Linked DNA regions of Homo sapiens: region 2 is linked to region 1. The links are contacts of gene promoters, found by promoter capture Hi-C in blood cells and fetal thymus (Javierre and others, 2016). All regions are on one chromosome and are shown on one strand. Each heading gives the region's core, a stretch centred on a gene start or on the middle of the fragment in contact. The rest is flanking DNA. Distances are from core to core; before and after follow the strand shown.

Region 1 (7,803 bases), core at 1,764-4,263:
ATGTATCCTTCTTTTGTGCCATTTATGGTAAAAAATTTGGGTACCCACAATTGAATTCACTTATGGGTTTTTTTTTCATTCTCTTCAGGTGTGGCAGTTGGGTGGGCAGGGAGTAATTAACGTTTACTGAAATTATGCTACTTGGTGATCTCCAGGAATCATTTAGCAGGTGGTTTAAAATCCTCACATTTAATGCTGGTTGAGCAAGAGTGAACTGACTGTAATGACCCTTGGGAAGGTGAATTGGTTACAGACGTATAGTAACGACACTGTAAAGATAGTCCAGGCAGGAGATGACAGGTCTGGAGTAGAGTGGTAGCCGTGGCAAAGTGACATTTAATTTCCACGAAGACAGTTTTAAGGGAGACTGGGACATCGGAAGAAAAAAGGGGTGATGCAGAGCTCAAATCTGTACACGCTTGTTTGAGGTGATAGCAGACATCCAGATGAAGAAAACCAGCAGACAGGTGAAAATCTTAATCTAGGATGATTAGTCATGCTATGGATTCAGAGAAAGAAATGTGTTTTTTCATTACTTCATTAGGAATTGCACAATAAATCTCCTCCCCCATAATCACATGACTACTGACTTTTCAGCATGCAGGAGAAAAAGCAAATATTTCCACTGTTGAAAGGTTTTATTGGAGAAACTTGATGAATACAATGACTTCATGGCTTAGTGAAGACAACCACGGTGGTTAAAATACAGTGAACCCTCATTTAGCTGTATCCATTCAAAGTATTTGAGCATCTCCTATGTATAATGTCAATTTATTTGATGCTGGTTAAATGTGTAACAAGTTACTTAAAACCAACTGTAATACCAAAAAGTCATTGAACACACTTCTAAAGTATACTGCCTGAATAAAAGGTATCTATAAAAATTCCTTCCCTGTAGTATCTATATATTTAAGCTTACAAACTTAGCTGCTTTTCTACACACAACTGCAATTCTATATTAAAGCTTTGCAACTGCCTTAATCTCTACACTCTTTTTTTTTTTTTTCCCGAGACGGAAAAAAAAGAGTCTCGCTCTGTTGCCAGGCTGGAGTGCAGTGGCGCGATCTCGGCTCATCGCAACCTCCGCCTCCCGGATTCAAGCGATTCTCCTGCCTCAGCCTCCCGAGTAGCTGGGACTACAGGCATGCGCCAACACGCCCGGCTAATTTTTGATATTTTAGTAGGGACGGGGTTTCGCCATGTTGGACAGGCTGGTCAAACTCCTGACCTCAGGTGATGCGCCCGCCTCGGCCTCCCAGAGTGCTGGGATCACAGGCATGAGGCACCGCGCCCGGCCTATGCTCAAATGTTTCTTGGGCTGTTAAAGTACTGCTCCTCGCAGAAGGGCTATGTTCCCGGGATCTATTCTCTTCCGTACATTCATTCCTATCTTCATTAGAAAACATCTGACCTAAATAAATCCCCCATCGATGCTAACATCTCCTTCCGCGCAATTTTTTACTTTCTAAGTCAAATCAAAACAATTATTTGAGCGACTGCTCCTGTCTGCCATTAAGTCTTTCTGGCACCACCCTCCAGACATATATACAATATTGCTTCTTTCCCTCAAATCAGAAAGGACTGCATAGTTCCGGATCAAGGCATAAATGATGAATCATGACTGTCCATCCCCACCAACATACTCTGCAACATTATAATCTATTTACCTCTGCTTTGAAAATGTATTCTTTAAAGCACTGCTTCCAACTAGCCACTTAGCCAGTAACATTTTTGAGAAAAACAAAACACAACCCAAAACAATGTATATATTCCTGGGGGGAAGAGTTTCTAACTCAAAATACGCAGATAATTGTTTATTATTCTAAGGAACACCCTTCTGAAGAGGCCTGCAGTCGGTGGGGCTGTTTCTAATTTAAAACTACTTAGGTGAACCAGGAAGAATGTACATTTAAGGAGATACTTTTAGACGCAGATGCCTCGCGCAAGCCTAAAGCTCGTGTGGTAAGCGACACGACTAGGGGTTAAAAGCGGCTGGTTGGTAGGCCCGGGGCCGTGGCTCACGCCTTGTAAACCCAGCACTTTGGGAGGCTGAGGCGGGCAGATCACCTAAGGTTAGGAGTTCGAGACCAGCCTGGCAAATATGGTGAAACGCCGTCTCTACTAAAAACACAAAAATTAGCCGGCGTAGTGGCGCGCGCGCGCTCTCAGCTACTCGAGAAGCTAAGGCAGGAGAATCACTTAAACCCAGGAGGCGGAGGTTGCAGTGAGCCAAGATTGCGCCACTGCACTCCAATCTGGGCACAGAGTGAGACTCCGTCTCAAATAAATAAATAAAAGCAGCTAGTTACTTCTCATTCTTTTAACGAAACAAACAAAACTGAACTTTGCTGGGTGACAGGAGTGAAGCAAAGGAAAAAACGATAGTACAAGTTCGATTCGAATTCTTCCAGTCTTATGATTCGATCATCGCAGGAATACTGATAAAAATCTGCGTTTTTTCCAGGTTGACAACTTTTGCGAGGCCAGACTAAACGAATTCAGCGCTCCAAGGAGACTCCTCTTTCCTCTGCTTTCTCACATTTACCTCTCGCCTTTTACCTCCCAAAGTCGAACCCTCCAGGATCGTACAGGCGGTATTCCCTCTACCAAGCATTCTACTCCTCTGCAGATGCTGCAATCTTTACACTGGAACTAACACTTAGCTGTGGTGTTCCCCGCTTTCTTTACTCGGAGTAGCCCAGGCTCTTCCTCTCCAATCCACAATTTCCCTCCAATCCCCAGTTTCCCTCTTGGGCGCCTGGACGCGTGCCCAGCCGCAGCCTGGGAGACACCGCGCGGCTGCACGCACCATGCAGATGTGGTCCCTTTCCCCTTCTTCTTCTCCTCCCCAAAGAGGTTTTGTGCTGTGACTGGCTTGCCCCGGTTACTTACTCCAAGGTGTAGGGGTGAAGAACGGAAGAGGACGAAATAACTAGCTGGAGGCAGCAGTGTCAGCCGATGCCGGTGCCACGGCTCGAAACACCGGCGCCTCTCGCGGTGCTAAAAGGATGGGCGCGCACCCTCCTTCCGGCATCCGTAGAACCCCCGCCTTTGACCTAGCTTCAGGAGATTACTTTCCGGGTCAGCGTGCGTTTAGGGCGAAGACGGAGTTGTAAACTTCTTAAAATTCCTCTCTCGACACTTCGGTAATTCCTCTTTCGAGACTAAAGCTCTTTTTGTATGCGTGTGTGTCAAGCGTATGCCCCGGGATTCTCCTCCGCTTCCTTTTCTCGGTCTTCCTTCTTGCTTTAGGGACCGGAAGAGTCCTTGAACCAAAATAGCTCGGCGGGCACTTCCGGGGCCGGCGCCCAGAGTTCCGGGAGGGTGCAGGCAGGAGAGGGAAAGGCAGCAGCGGCGGCAGCTGGAGGATGAAGAAGGAGCATGTGCTTCACTGCCAGTTCTCCGCGTGGTACCCGTTCTTCCGAGGCGTTACCATCAAGAGGTGAGATGGGAGGGGGTTCGCCCGGTCGACCGGCAAAAGGGAACTGCGACTTCTGAGCGAATCTTACTGCTATCCAAAAAAATGCAGGCCTTCTAGCGACTGCATGGGAGGGAGTGTGTCGAGAGGGAAGTACATCAGCAATTGTCTGCGTCCTGTTGCGAGCCAGCGAGTGTGCTGGCTAGGAGGGTCAGTTGTGGTTTTCAGTGAGGGTCGGAGGCGGGAGGAATAGTGGATTAACCTAGTTTAGGCTTGGGAGTTCACCACCACTACTTTTAGAATGGCCCCAGGCGCAAGGTGATCACTGCCTAAGTGCACTCGGAGAATTAATTGCTTTTCGCCATCACCCCAGAGGATGGAGATTGGGAAGGTGAAAGGATACGTAATTACAGTTAGATACGAGAACAAGTTCACAGATATGTCGTACAGCATGGAGGCTATAGTTAATGACGATATACGTATTCTTGAAAAACGGAGAGTGGATGTTAGTGTTCTCACCACAAAAATAACTATGTTAGGCAATGCATTTGTTAGCTAAATTTATTCCACAGTGTATATATACTTAAAAACATCAGGTAGGCGGCAAGTATTAATATATACAATTTCATCTCTCAGTTTTTTTAAAGGCGTTGATAGAAAATCTGGGCTTTGCACTTAACTGATTTTCTGAGCCAACATTTCAGTAATTGCTGATTCATTATATGATGGTTTCATTCAATAAAGATCGGATATGTACTTGAAAATGTGTAACTGGCTTAGAATGGTTAAAATGTATAAGAAAAGTTTCAAGTTCTTAAATAGTATTGGAATGTGTGGTAGAACCTTAGATTCATTGTACTTAACAATTTCGCTTGTTAGCTTTGTAAGAGTAAAATACTTAGGAAGGCTTATTTGTAATCAGCAAATAGACATATTAAGAAAGAAAATTGAGTGGTTTATGAATAGAATTTAAAATTTTAAAGAGACTTTTAAGTTGCAAAGTTTCGCTTGAAATTGTTTAAAATTTAGTAGATTTTCAAACGTAATAAGATTTGTTAGAAGAAATTAAAAGCCTGAAGAACTAGATTTTTTTTTTTTGAGACAGAGTTTTGTTCTGTCGCCCAAGCTGGAGTGCAGTGGCAGCGATCTTGGCTCACTGCAAGCTTCCCTTCCCGAGTTCACGCCATTCTCCTGCCTCAGCTTCCTGAGTAGCTGGGACTACAGGCGCCCGCCACCACCCCCGGCTAATTTTTTGTATTTTTAGTAGAGGCGGGGTTTTCACCGTGTTAGCCAGGATGGTCTCGATTGCCTGACCTCGTGATCCGCCCGCCTCGGCCTCCCAAAGTGCTGGGATTACAGGTGTGAGCCACCGCGCCCGGCCAGAACTAGATTTTTGAATGTGAAATTGTACCTTTGATAAATCAAATATTTATTTTTAAAACCGAAGTTTTTGCTCTGTCGCCCAAGCTGGAGTGCAGTGGCAGTGATCTTTTATTTATTTAAAAATAAATAAAAATACTTATTTTTAAAACCGAAGTAGCCCATGAATACTCTTTTTTGTGCAAAAAAACCATTTGTAATGTGCCAAAAAAAACTTCTTCCATAAATAAATGAGACATGTTATAAGTCATTGATGTTCTGTTAACTTCGGGAAAGCAGGCTGTAATCTTTTCCACTTTTTGAAGATGTATATGCCTCAAAATCAAAATAATACCAGCACTCTTAGGGATCTGTGGTAGGGCTTTTTGATAATTTATTATTTCAAGGTAAAAAACAAATTATCCCATAAGTTTTTAAGAGACTTCAGGTATGGCTTTGCCATCCTTAATTATGATTACCTGAAACAAATTAAGCTAAAGCATGCCTAGTTTAAGCAGCTTTATATCTCTGGTGATCAGTTGAATAGAAAGCCAGCAAGACACATCCAAAAGTATCATGAATTCTTAGCGGTAGGTGCTCACTGCCAACCCAAGAATGGTTTCCAGATCTTGACTCTACTTCTGCCCTCTATCTTTAGAAGGTGACCAAATGCTAGTCATCTTCTAGTTGGGTTTGCTGCATTTCCTGTGTTGCAGCAAATATCTGCTGGTCTCTGATTTCTTAAAGACACATAAATGTTGTGCTCACTCAGAATCCTTTTGAGCTTGTTGCTTTCATACTGTGATTTCCATCTGGTGGTTTGGATTTGGCTGGTTTTTGTTTACTACAAAGACCATTGTGGCAATAAGATGAACCGCAGTAATCTTATTATTCTGATTTCTTGTCTACTGCTACCAAATGTACATCATTAACATTTTCTACTTTATATTAAAAGAAAGACAATTCCAAAATTAATCAAGTGTAGAGATTTTTCTCTCTGCTTATAGTTGGTCTTTTAAAATGATGCCTTTTTTGGTGTTTTTTTTTTAGTGTCATTCTTCCACTTCCTCAGAATGTGAAGGATTATTTACTCGATGATGGAACTCTGGTGGTTTCAGGAAGGTAAAGTATTTTAGAAAAAAATTTCTTAAACTTTATCATAAAGAAACACATAAAATGAATGAATTAGCTTAGGCACCATTCTTTCCCTTTAGCTCTTTTTCTCTCCTAGCCAAAATGATGTGCTGATCTTTGTCTCATATTCCTTCTCAATGTTCACTTAATATTTTCAACATTAAGTACTTTTCCCTCTAATAATTACAAGTTGTGAAATTGAGCAGTTCCTTTCATCTCTGTCTTTAGAAAACAGTTATGATGACAACTTTTCCTTCTGACGGTAGCAGGGTGGGGGAAGTACATATTAAAATTCTTTGAGATCCTTCAGTTTTGACGATTAAAAATTCACTGTTGCAAACAGGCTTTATCATCTAATTCCTCAACATTTTCTTCCCCACGATTGAACTACCGTGGCCCCCCCTCCACTTTCTAGAAGCTGTTCAGGTAGTTTCCCTATTTATAGAATAAAGGGAAGAAGTTACTGTGTTTCAGTCTTTTGGATGCAAACTTGAAAACGTTGAAGAATCATAGGATTTAGTGAAGTTCTCATTTTTTAATTCGAGTCTGCTCAGAAGTCACGTTATGAGTGTTCAGCCCTCACCAGCCTTTCTAAAATAGCCTGACAGTAACCCTATGCCCTGACCTCCCTTCATTTTTCTGCATAACACTTACTTCCACCTGACAATTGTTAATTGTTCCATTAGAATGCAGTTTCATGAAAACAGGGACTTGGCCCATTTGTTCACCCCAGCTCATGGAACAGTGCCTGATATAGCAGAAGTGCTTGATAAACATTTGTTGGATGAAGGAACTATAGAAATACAGTAAGAATTGTGTGTTTTCAGTACTACTAACTGGACCCCATATTTTTGCCTGTTGGGTTTTTAGTGTGGTTTTCTGGATTATATTTCTGTTTTTGGTATTCACAGAGCCTCAATAACCTGAAAATTATTAATGTAGCGCCTCATTAACTTTGAATAATTTGAGGCTGAGGAAACAGTAGGAAAGTCAGATAAGTCTCAACTTTAGGATATTTACAGATATAATTTTTTTTGTTTTGTTTTTCTTTTGAGACAGAGTCTCGCTCTGTCACCCAGGCTGGAGTGCAGTGGCGTGATCTCAGCTCACTTCAAGGTCTGCCTCCCGGGTTCACGCTATTCTCCTGCCTCAGCCTCCAAGTAGCTGGGACTACAGGCGCCCACCACCACGCCTGGCTAATTTTTTTTATTTTTAGTAGAGATGGGGTTTTACTGTCTTAGCCAGGATGGTCTTGATCTCCTGACCTCGTGATCTGGCTGCCTCGGCCTCCCAAAGTGCTGGGATTATAGGCCTGAGCCACCGCACTCGGCATTTTTTTTTTTTTTTTTTTTTTTAAAGATGGAGTCTTGCTCTGTCAGCCAGGCTGGAGTGCAGTGGCTCAATCTCAGCTCACTGCAATCTCTGCCTCCCAGGTTCAAGTGATTTTCTTGCTACAGCCTCCCAACTAGCTGGGACAACAGGTGTGCGCCACCACATCCAGCTAATTTTTGTATTTTTAGTAGGGATGGGGTTTCACCATGTTGGCCGGGCTGTCTTGAACTCCTGACCTCAGGTGATCCACCTGCTTCAGCCTCCCAAAGTGTTGGGATTACAGGCGTGAGCCACTGTGCCCAGTCAGTTTTATTCTCAAATACGTGTACCTATTTGCTTTATAAATGAGCTTATATATAATAAGCTTATGTAAATGAGACTATAAGTAAAATAGCTTTTAATATTAGAAAATAATTGGTAAATCTCAGTAGTGTAAACATGTTGAAGAGCTCCTATGATGATTCTCCCTGGCCAGATGTTTGCATGGCCTGTGGCTTAGGCAAGCACTGATGTTAAATACTGTTAAACAGGGCTGGGCGCGGTGGCTCATGCCTGTAATC
Region 2 (7,803 bases), core at 3,232-5,731, 520 kb after region 1:
GCCATTTAGGGTGGGACGTGCTAGAATAGAGGGAGATACATATGAAGGTATCTGGGATTTTAAAGGAAGACGGACAAACTGTGCGGTTTGGGAAGACATTACCCATCACAAAGATATTTAAAATACAACTTAACAGGCACATAAAAGAGTTTTCCAGCTGGAGAGAGATAGGAGTTACGGAAGGAGAGGTGGACAGATCCCAGCCCCAGGACATAGCCTGGAATTTGCTCCTTTCAGCCAGCAGTGGATGTACTTTAGCTGTCTCTTGCTTCTTTTGCTTAAAAACAGAATTCAGAAAAAATTAATTCCAGTTATTCAGCGTGCCAGTTAGTGGAGGCCTGACTAATTAAGGTTTCACTGTAAGCTTGGCATATCAGAAGTAGTATTATAATCATGTGTTTTTGTTTTGAATATGTTAAGTTTTTGTTGTTCTATTTGTGTTGACTGGGGTAAAATGTGATCTGTGTCATTTTGATTTTGAGTTCTCACTTAGTAATCCAATTTGGCATCCCATATCCTCTTCCCAACAAGAATTTAAAGTGTTTATTAAAAAGGAGAGGAGAGGTAGAGGGTCAAATAAAACATTGGCAGCAAGGCAGGTGGCCAAAGCCTGCGGAGGAAGGACAGGAAATGTCTGCTGGAGCTTGTTATAGAGCAGACGCAGAATGAGCACAGTCAGAAAATAGAGAGCTAGGGAAGGGAAGGCTTGCTCAGCTCTGGGGAATTCCAGAACTTAGAGGGCAGAGGCCAATTTATTCAACATGATAGTTTCTTGTCTCTAATCTCTCTTGGATTCTTTGAGTATGAGGAGGACAAGTAAATGTTTTGAGGAAGCATGGCATAGCAAGAACACCAGGGGGCCTCGCATACCTGCCTTTGAAGTTTATTATGTTTGGCAAGACCCTCTCAGAGCCTACGTTCATAGCTGTGAAATTAGCCATAAACATGCTCCCTCCAAGGCCTTCTGTTGGGAGGATTTATAAGGATTTAAATATGCTTAGCACAGAGTGCAGGCCATAGGAGATACTCAGTAAATGGGATCCCCCCTCTGCCCGACCTGTAACCCTACGTGGAATCCTATGATAGACTTTGCCTAAGAGTGACCGAGGCAGCATTGTCATTGCCACGGCTAGAGCCCCCATTGTATTTAGTTTAACCTTCGCTCTCTAAAGGTCAGAATACATTTCTACAACACAATACATTTTATTTAGTGCTGCACACACAGTGGTTTTAGTGAGGGCCTTAATAGTCCCCCCAGAGGTTCCACGTATGCACCTCTTGCACTCTGCCACCTGTGCTGTGGGGCTAGTATCCTGCAATGACAGTGCACTCCCAGCTTATGCCTGGGAGACGTTCTTAAAGTCCCAGTGGCGACTGATACGTTTACATGCTGTTTATGAAAGAGATGGAGTTTGGGTGGTGATGGGAGGGAGGGAAGGAGAAGAAGGAAGCGCCGTAACTCCATCTGATGGGCACAGAAGCAGAGGAAGAGTAACGCATATGCTGTGCACTCCCCCTTCCCTTCTTGCCACCCAATCCCTGATCCCAGCTGGATCTCAATATAGAATAATAAAACTGTGATTAAGATCACGTAAACACAATTTATTTTTTCATTAAGCTCCATAATATACTTTTGCACTTGTTTCTATAAAGCTTCAGACGGCCTCAGCAAAAGAGTTGACGCTTTGCCTGTAATATAATTTGCATGTCCCTATCCTCTTTAAAAGTGCCAGTTTCCTTGAATTACAGATATTAACTCCCAAGACAGTATAAGCATCATGGCCTTTTGGACAGGTGGGCTGTTTTCTTCTATTCATTTTGAGGTTGTTAGGGACTCTTTGGTAATAGGATCTTCCTAATCTACGATATTATTGGTTATTAAATATGGATGACTTGTTTGATGTAGTGGGGCTTGTTTTCAATGATCCCATTAGGCCAGGCGTGGTGGCTCATATCTGTAATCCCAGCACTTTGAGAGGCCGAGGCAGGAGGATCACTTGAAGTCAGTGAGCCACCACGCCCGACCCGGAGTTGCATCTCTTAACGGCATCCCAGTTCGAGTCTCAGCCAAGGGAGCAGGCACCCATGCCCTGGGGCCTGAACTGTGGCATGGGAGTGGGGGGCACAGATCTTTTGGCAGAAGGTGGCTACCCAGGTCCAAGCCTCAGACATCTTTCCTCCTTGTCAGACCTTCCTCCTGGGTGAGTCACCTATGTGGGGGGCGGGTGAGAACCTCTTTGTGGAGGCTCTGGGAAAGCCGACTTGGAGCTTGGAGCCTCCACAGTTATATAAATGGAAAATTAGAAAAAAACAAAAAGGCCTTGTGGGCTTGTAAAGATGGAATACATTGTAGCTGAGAAAATTCTTGGCTGAGAAAATGTGAGGAGTGCTAAGGCCGTGGTTGGAGGATTTTTTTTTTTTTCTTGGTAAAGGGAGACAGTGGCTGCAGAAGGCACCAGCTGTCCCCACCTCTTTGCCATTGTTGAAACAAACTCGCAAATGGAAAGGACTTTGCAATGCAGAGTCTAAGGAGGGAAAATGAAAATATGACAGATACAAAGAACTGAATGCATTCTGAAATCTTAGGGGAATAAAAATATCTAGTATTGAGACAGCCCAAAGCTAAGAGTCTGCAAACTCAGAAACAGCAAGAAGCTTTTTCACAAGAAAAGGAAACTTAGTGCTCTAGGTACATAGAGGTGGAGAGGAGGGCCTGTGTGTTTTAATCTGTCACCCGATATCTTGTATAGCTGTAGGATTATGGAGTGATTCAGTTTCCTCTCTGTAGCAACATCCATGAAAATATCTATTTACTTACTGCCTCGGGAAAACATTCAAATTTATGATTTAATCAGCTTCAAAGTATTTCTGCTGAGTTTTGTTACTTTGTTTAACTTTTTTATTATGTGGTAGCTGGTGGATTGTAGGCATATTTAGCAGTTGGGAAATGTCTAAGGAAAGATTACCTTTGATAAAAAGCCAGTAGGAAGGGAATTGAAGGACGCAGAGTCGATGCCTGCAGTTTCTTGTTTTTGTTTCCCCAGCTCTGGAGTCAGACTGCATAGGTTTGCATCCTGACTCTTCAAGTTACCGTGTGACTTTGAGCAAACTTCTTAACTTTTCTGTGCCTCAGTTTCCTCTAAAATGTGATCATAGTTGTATTTACCTCAGAGATTGTCATGAGGATTAAATGAAATACTATATAAATGCTTAGAGCAGTATATCATCTTTCAGAAGAAAATTAAGTGTTACCGTTTGTAACTATCAGCTTCACAGACACTTAACTTCTTCTTTAATTTTCCCACTTAGAACCTAAAGTATATTTCTGTAAATGGGCACAACAGCTGGATCCCGACGTAATGACATTGATTTACGTTGTAAGTAACACACTACTGCCACCAGAGTATTTCTGGACAGTGTCTTGATAACTTTCGGTAATTTGGCTGTACCCTGTCATTCATTCCGTACATGTTTATTGAGCATCTATTATATGCTAGAAATGACATGAGCTATGGAAAATATGAACATGAAAAATAAAGAGCCCACAGATTAGTGACAAAGACAGAGAAGAAACAAATGCCTTCGATACAGTCTTTTGTACGTCAAAGTTTTTAGCCCTCTTGACAGTGGCTTGAGAGACCAGGTGTACAGACTTCTTTCGGGCTCAGGTCCTGCAAGTTGTGGGATGGGGGCCAGGATAATTTGCCACCAGCAAGCTTGGATTCAGCCACCTGCTGCTGCCCAGAATGCGATCCAACCTTTCCCAGTGAAAATGCAACCTTAGGAGTCAGGACCCAGGCAAGAGGGGGAGTGTGTAAAGACCTACACTGTATTCCACTAAGAACAAATAACTAATCACACAGCAGAACCTCTGGTATATAAACAAAGACATCCAGGCTGAACACAACCCCACCGGCGATATGTACCTCCGAGTGTACACCAGGGTATATAAAAAGTTATCCAAATGTCTGTTGCCTTTGACATTTGATCAATCACTATTGGAGTTTTCATCAACTTGTTCAGACTATATACCATGGATCTTTGCTGGGTGGATTAAGGTTTTGAATGTATTGCTTGTGTATTTCATCATGCAGTCAAAATCCACCTCCCACATAAGCCTGTTGTTGGATAGAGCTCCCAGTCATGAAAGTCTGTCCTCTTTTTCTCCCCTTCTATTTCTTGGTATTAATTTCAGCTTAATCAAGTCTTCTGGCCCTGTGATTCCAGGAACAGTTGGGTTCTGGCTAAAAGCAAAAGAGAAAACCGCCTGTTTCAGTCGCATAAGGTGATGTGGCAAGAACTTGTTTCTGAGGAATCCAAGATCTAGCCATTTTCAGCAGTGGTCATAGGGGACTGGAACGGGGGCGCCACCTGCAGGCTAAGGGGGAAAACACAGAGCGAGAAACTGAACCTTGCTTTAGGGGACAGGCATTTAAAGGCAAAGGAAATTCAGTCCCTCTGTGATAGACAGTAATGAACTCAGCAGGCTGTCTTGTAGATAAATATGCATGAGAATGCATCGTTGGAAGAGCTCTCACGTATTCCCTTCATTCCTGCCTTTTGGAGTTTCAGAATGTTTTACATTTTATGTTCATTTATATTTTTCTTTGTCAGAGTATGGAGATCCTAAAATCATCTGCCAGGGTATTTGCTGCTTCTTGGTACTGCTTGCTGCTCTTTTCAGAGAGAGCAGTGCCAGGTAAAATATTCTGCATTCTCATAAGAAGAGGTGAATGTCATTGCGTTCCCTGTTAATATGAGGCAGGGAAGGACGCTCTGGCCCGGAGCCGGAGTCCTCACACCACTTTGGTCTCTGTCCTTTCTAGCAGATCTAAATATCTACTCTGTCTACACCCTGTTTTTACAGAAACACCAGTGCTAGTCTAGAATGAAGGCAACATTGACAGCAGTGATGATCAAACGTTCGTTTTTCAATATGCCATGAAAAATAACTTGGTCCAAAATAAAATTCTGTCCTTATATTTCTATTTAGATGTATACCTCCCATAAAGGTAAAATGTTTTTCTCAGACGTAATTTCAGATTTTCTGTGTGCCCTACCAACAGATCAGGTTTCTCCTAAGTTTTTCAGTGGAAAATGTGATCGGCAAATGTATCAGCTGTTCCTCTGTTAGCTTTGTTGATTGATGCTTTTGAGGGGCAGAGTAGGTTTATTTGCTGATTTGTGCATTTTATCAGGTACAAAGGACATAGCAGATGTGGAAGATGCTTTTAAGAACTTCACCAAGAAGCTTGAGGGCCACCCTAAGGGAAGCTCCGCTCTCCTTCAACTGAAGCTCTCCAGGGACAATAGGAGCTGATGTTTTTGGAAGCGTCACACTGCTGGGGTCAGTGTTGCAGGTTCAGGAATGTCAGGATGCAGCCCTGTGTCTAGAGTACTCACAGCTAGGACAGGCGCACACATAACTATAATACCAAGCCAGCCTGCAGCAGCGCCATGGAGGGGCACACAGGGTGAAGAAGGGTGTCTTAGCTGGAATTGCTACAACAGAACGCTGTAGACTGGGCAGCTTCAATGTGGATGTGTATTTCTCACAGTTCTGGAGGGTGGAAGTTCCAGAGCAAGGTGGTGGCTGATTCACTTCCTGGTGAGGGCTCTCTTCCTGGTTTGCAGACGGCCTCCTTCTCACTGTGTTCTCACATGGTGGACAAAAAGAGGGCTCTGGCGTCTCTTCTTATAGGGACACTAATCGCATCCTGGGGGCCCCATTTGTTTGACATCATCTAACCTGATCGTCTCCCAAAGGCTCCATCTCCTAATACCATCATACTGGGGGTTAGGGTTTCGTGTGTATTTAGGGGTAGGGGAGACTAACATTCAGTCCATAACGGAGGGGAAGATTCAGCTGTAGGATTATCAGGCTCAGAGAATTAGACTCTATTATCTCCCCCGCCTACACACACACCCCTGTACTGATGAGAAAAGTAAAGCAGCGAAGGGGAGGGTACTGAGCTTAGCAGCAGCCAGCTTCATTGTCAGTTCCATACCTGGGAGAGCCTCAGAGCCCACCCTCTGTGAAAGGAGGGAGGCATGAGCATGTAAAAAATATATACTTCTCCATGGAAAAGATGGTTTTGACATTCCCGGAGGCATGGTACCTATTTCAGATCTCCTTAGAGTTTCTGTTAAGTGGGTGCCTCCCTTTTTTTTTTGGGATGGAGTTTTGCTCTTGTTGCCCAAGCTGGAGTGCAATGGCGCCACCTTGGCTCACTGCAACCTCTGCCTTCCAGGTTCAAGCGATTCTCCTGCCTCAGCCTCCTGAGTAGCTGGGATTACAAGCGCACGCCACCAGGCCCGGCTAATTTTTTGTATTTTTAGTAGTAACAGGGTTTCACCAAGTGAGTGCTGCTTTTAAGAAGTCAAATGATAGGCAACTTGTGGACGATGCCTTTAGTTTATCTAAGTCCTGTTTCAGCTTTGAGGTTTCCATGAGTTGCGTTTTACCCTGAGGTTGGTGAAGTGCAGCATTGGGTTAACTTTGCTCCCACGAATTCCAGGGGTGCCCATTGCTAACTGGCTTCTCACAGCAATGACATTTGAGGCCGGAATGGTCTCTCTGTCGGCACGGTACACAGTTGTTCACTGGTGGCTTATTGGTCAGATCAAAAACCAAAAAGAAACAGGGAGGGAATGCGGACTAGGATCCATGTTTGTAGAAATCTGAGCAGGGAGAAAGGAAGAAAGGAGGATTGGGGGACCCCTACATGTCCTCCCTTCAGTTGCAGATGTTTGTTAGGATGTGGTCAGATGTGGGGAAGGGCAGGTGGCCATGGAAGCAGGGCCCCCAACAAGTGGCATTCACCTGGATGGATGCCCCACAGCCCAGCATCTAGACTTCAGCTGGTTTGTCAACACACCAAGTGTGGATGCTTTTGTTGGAACAGAATCCCTCAACAGAGACAGAATGCCAGTATTATTGATTCATAATAAAATGTATAATTATCCAGTGGGCTCATGTTGGCTAAGTAGCATCGTCTTTCCCCTTTAGGGCAAAAATACTTAGAAAGGCAAACTGTAATCAGAAGATCGCTTGGATGGATGGGATCAGAGCAGGAGGAGGGAACGGGGTTATGTTGACAGCTGGTACCATCAGGCTGTGATAGCTGGTCTGGAACCCTCACCTCCACTGTAAGGACATCCCTGCCACAGCCCATGGTCACGGCATGTAGCCAGGACTCTGCTTTCCCAGTGGTCCTGTGGAGGGGCTGCTGACTTGGAAGGTGGTGGGCTTCTCTAAGTCTCTTATCCATGGTCACCCTGCTGACCGACCCCACCGTCACCCCCCACCCCCGTAGGCATAGACATATTATATCTTTAGAATATGAATCCAGACAACCGTCTACCTTCATACATGGCATAGTCCCCAAAACATGCACCCCTGTGCAAAATGGAACAGTACACTTACATGCTCCCAGCCCAGAGAGGTTTAAAAGTATATTTATATTTTTAATTATAATTTTAAAATAAAAAGTATATTTATATATTTATAAATAGGTGCATTAAGGCCAGGTGCGGTGGCTCACGCCTGTAATCCCAGCACTTTGGGGGGCCAAGGCAGGCGGATCACGAGGTCAGGAGTTAGAGACCAGCCTGGCCAACATGATGAAACCCTGTCTCACTAAAAATACAAAAAATTAGCTGGGCTTGGTGGCAGGTGCCTGTAATCTCATCTACTCAGGAGGCTGAGGCAGGAGAATTGCTTTAATCCAGGAGGTGGTGGTTCCAGTGAGCCGAGATCACGCCACTGCACTCCAGCCTGGGCAACAGAGCAAGACTCCAACT

The links. Contacts are between HindIII fragments. The CHiCAGO score rates a contact against its expected background, and 5 or more counts as called.
Region 2: a contact is called between a fragment that was not itself captured here and the fragment with the promoter of NUDT5 in region 1, in 1 of 17 cell types (fetal thymus). The highest score is 7.1, in fetal thymus.

The regions. Positions count from the first base shown.
Region 1 is chr10:12,192,878-12,200,680 of GRCh38, forward strand. NUDT5 (nudix hydrolase 5) reads right to left here and starts at 3,014. Exons shown (of 10, transcript NM_014142.4): 1 at 2,893-3,014. CDC123 (cell division cycle 123) reads left to right here and starts at 3,311. Exons shown (of 13, transcript NM_006023.3): 1 at 3,311-3,442; 2 at 5,828-5,899. The coding sequence starts at 3,369. RefSeq lists an enhancer at 3,058-3,327. The HindIII fragment of the contact is 3,617 bases long and covers 963-4,579 here.
Region 2 is chr10:12,706,915-12,714,717 of GRCh38, forward strand. The region is part of intron 3 of CAMK1D (calcium/calmodulin dependent protein kinase ID); the gene reads left to right. Among named protein-coding and RNA genes, the nearest start is that of MIR548Q, 15 kb to the right of the region's middle. The HindIII fragment of the contact is 1,535 bases long and covers 3,715-5,249 here.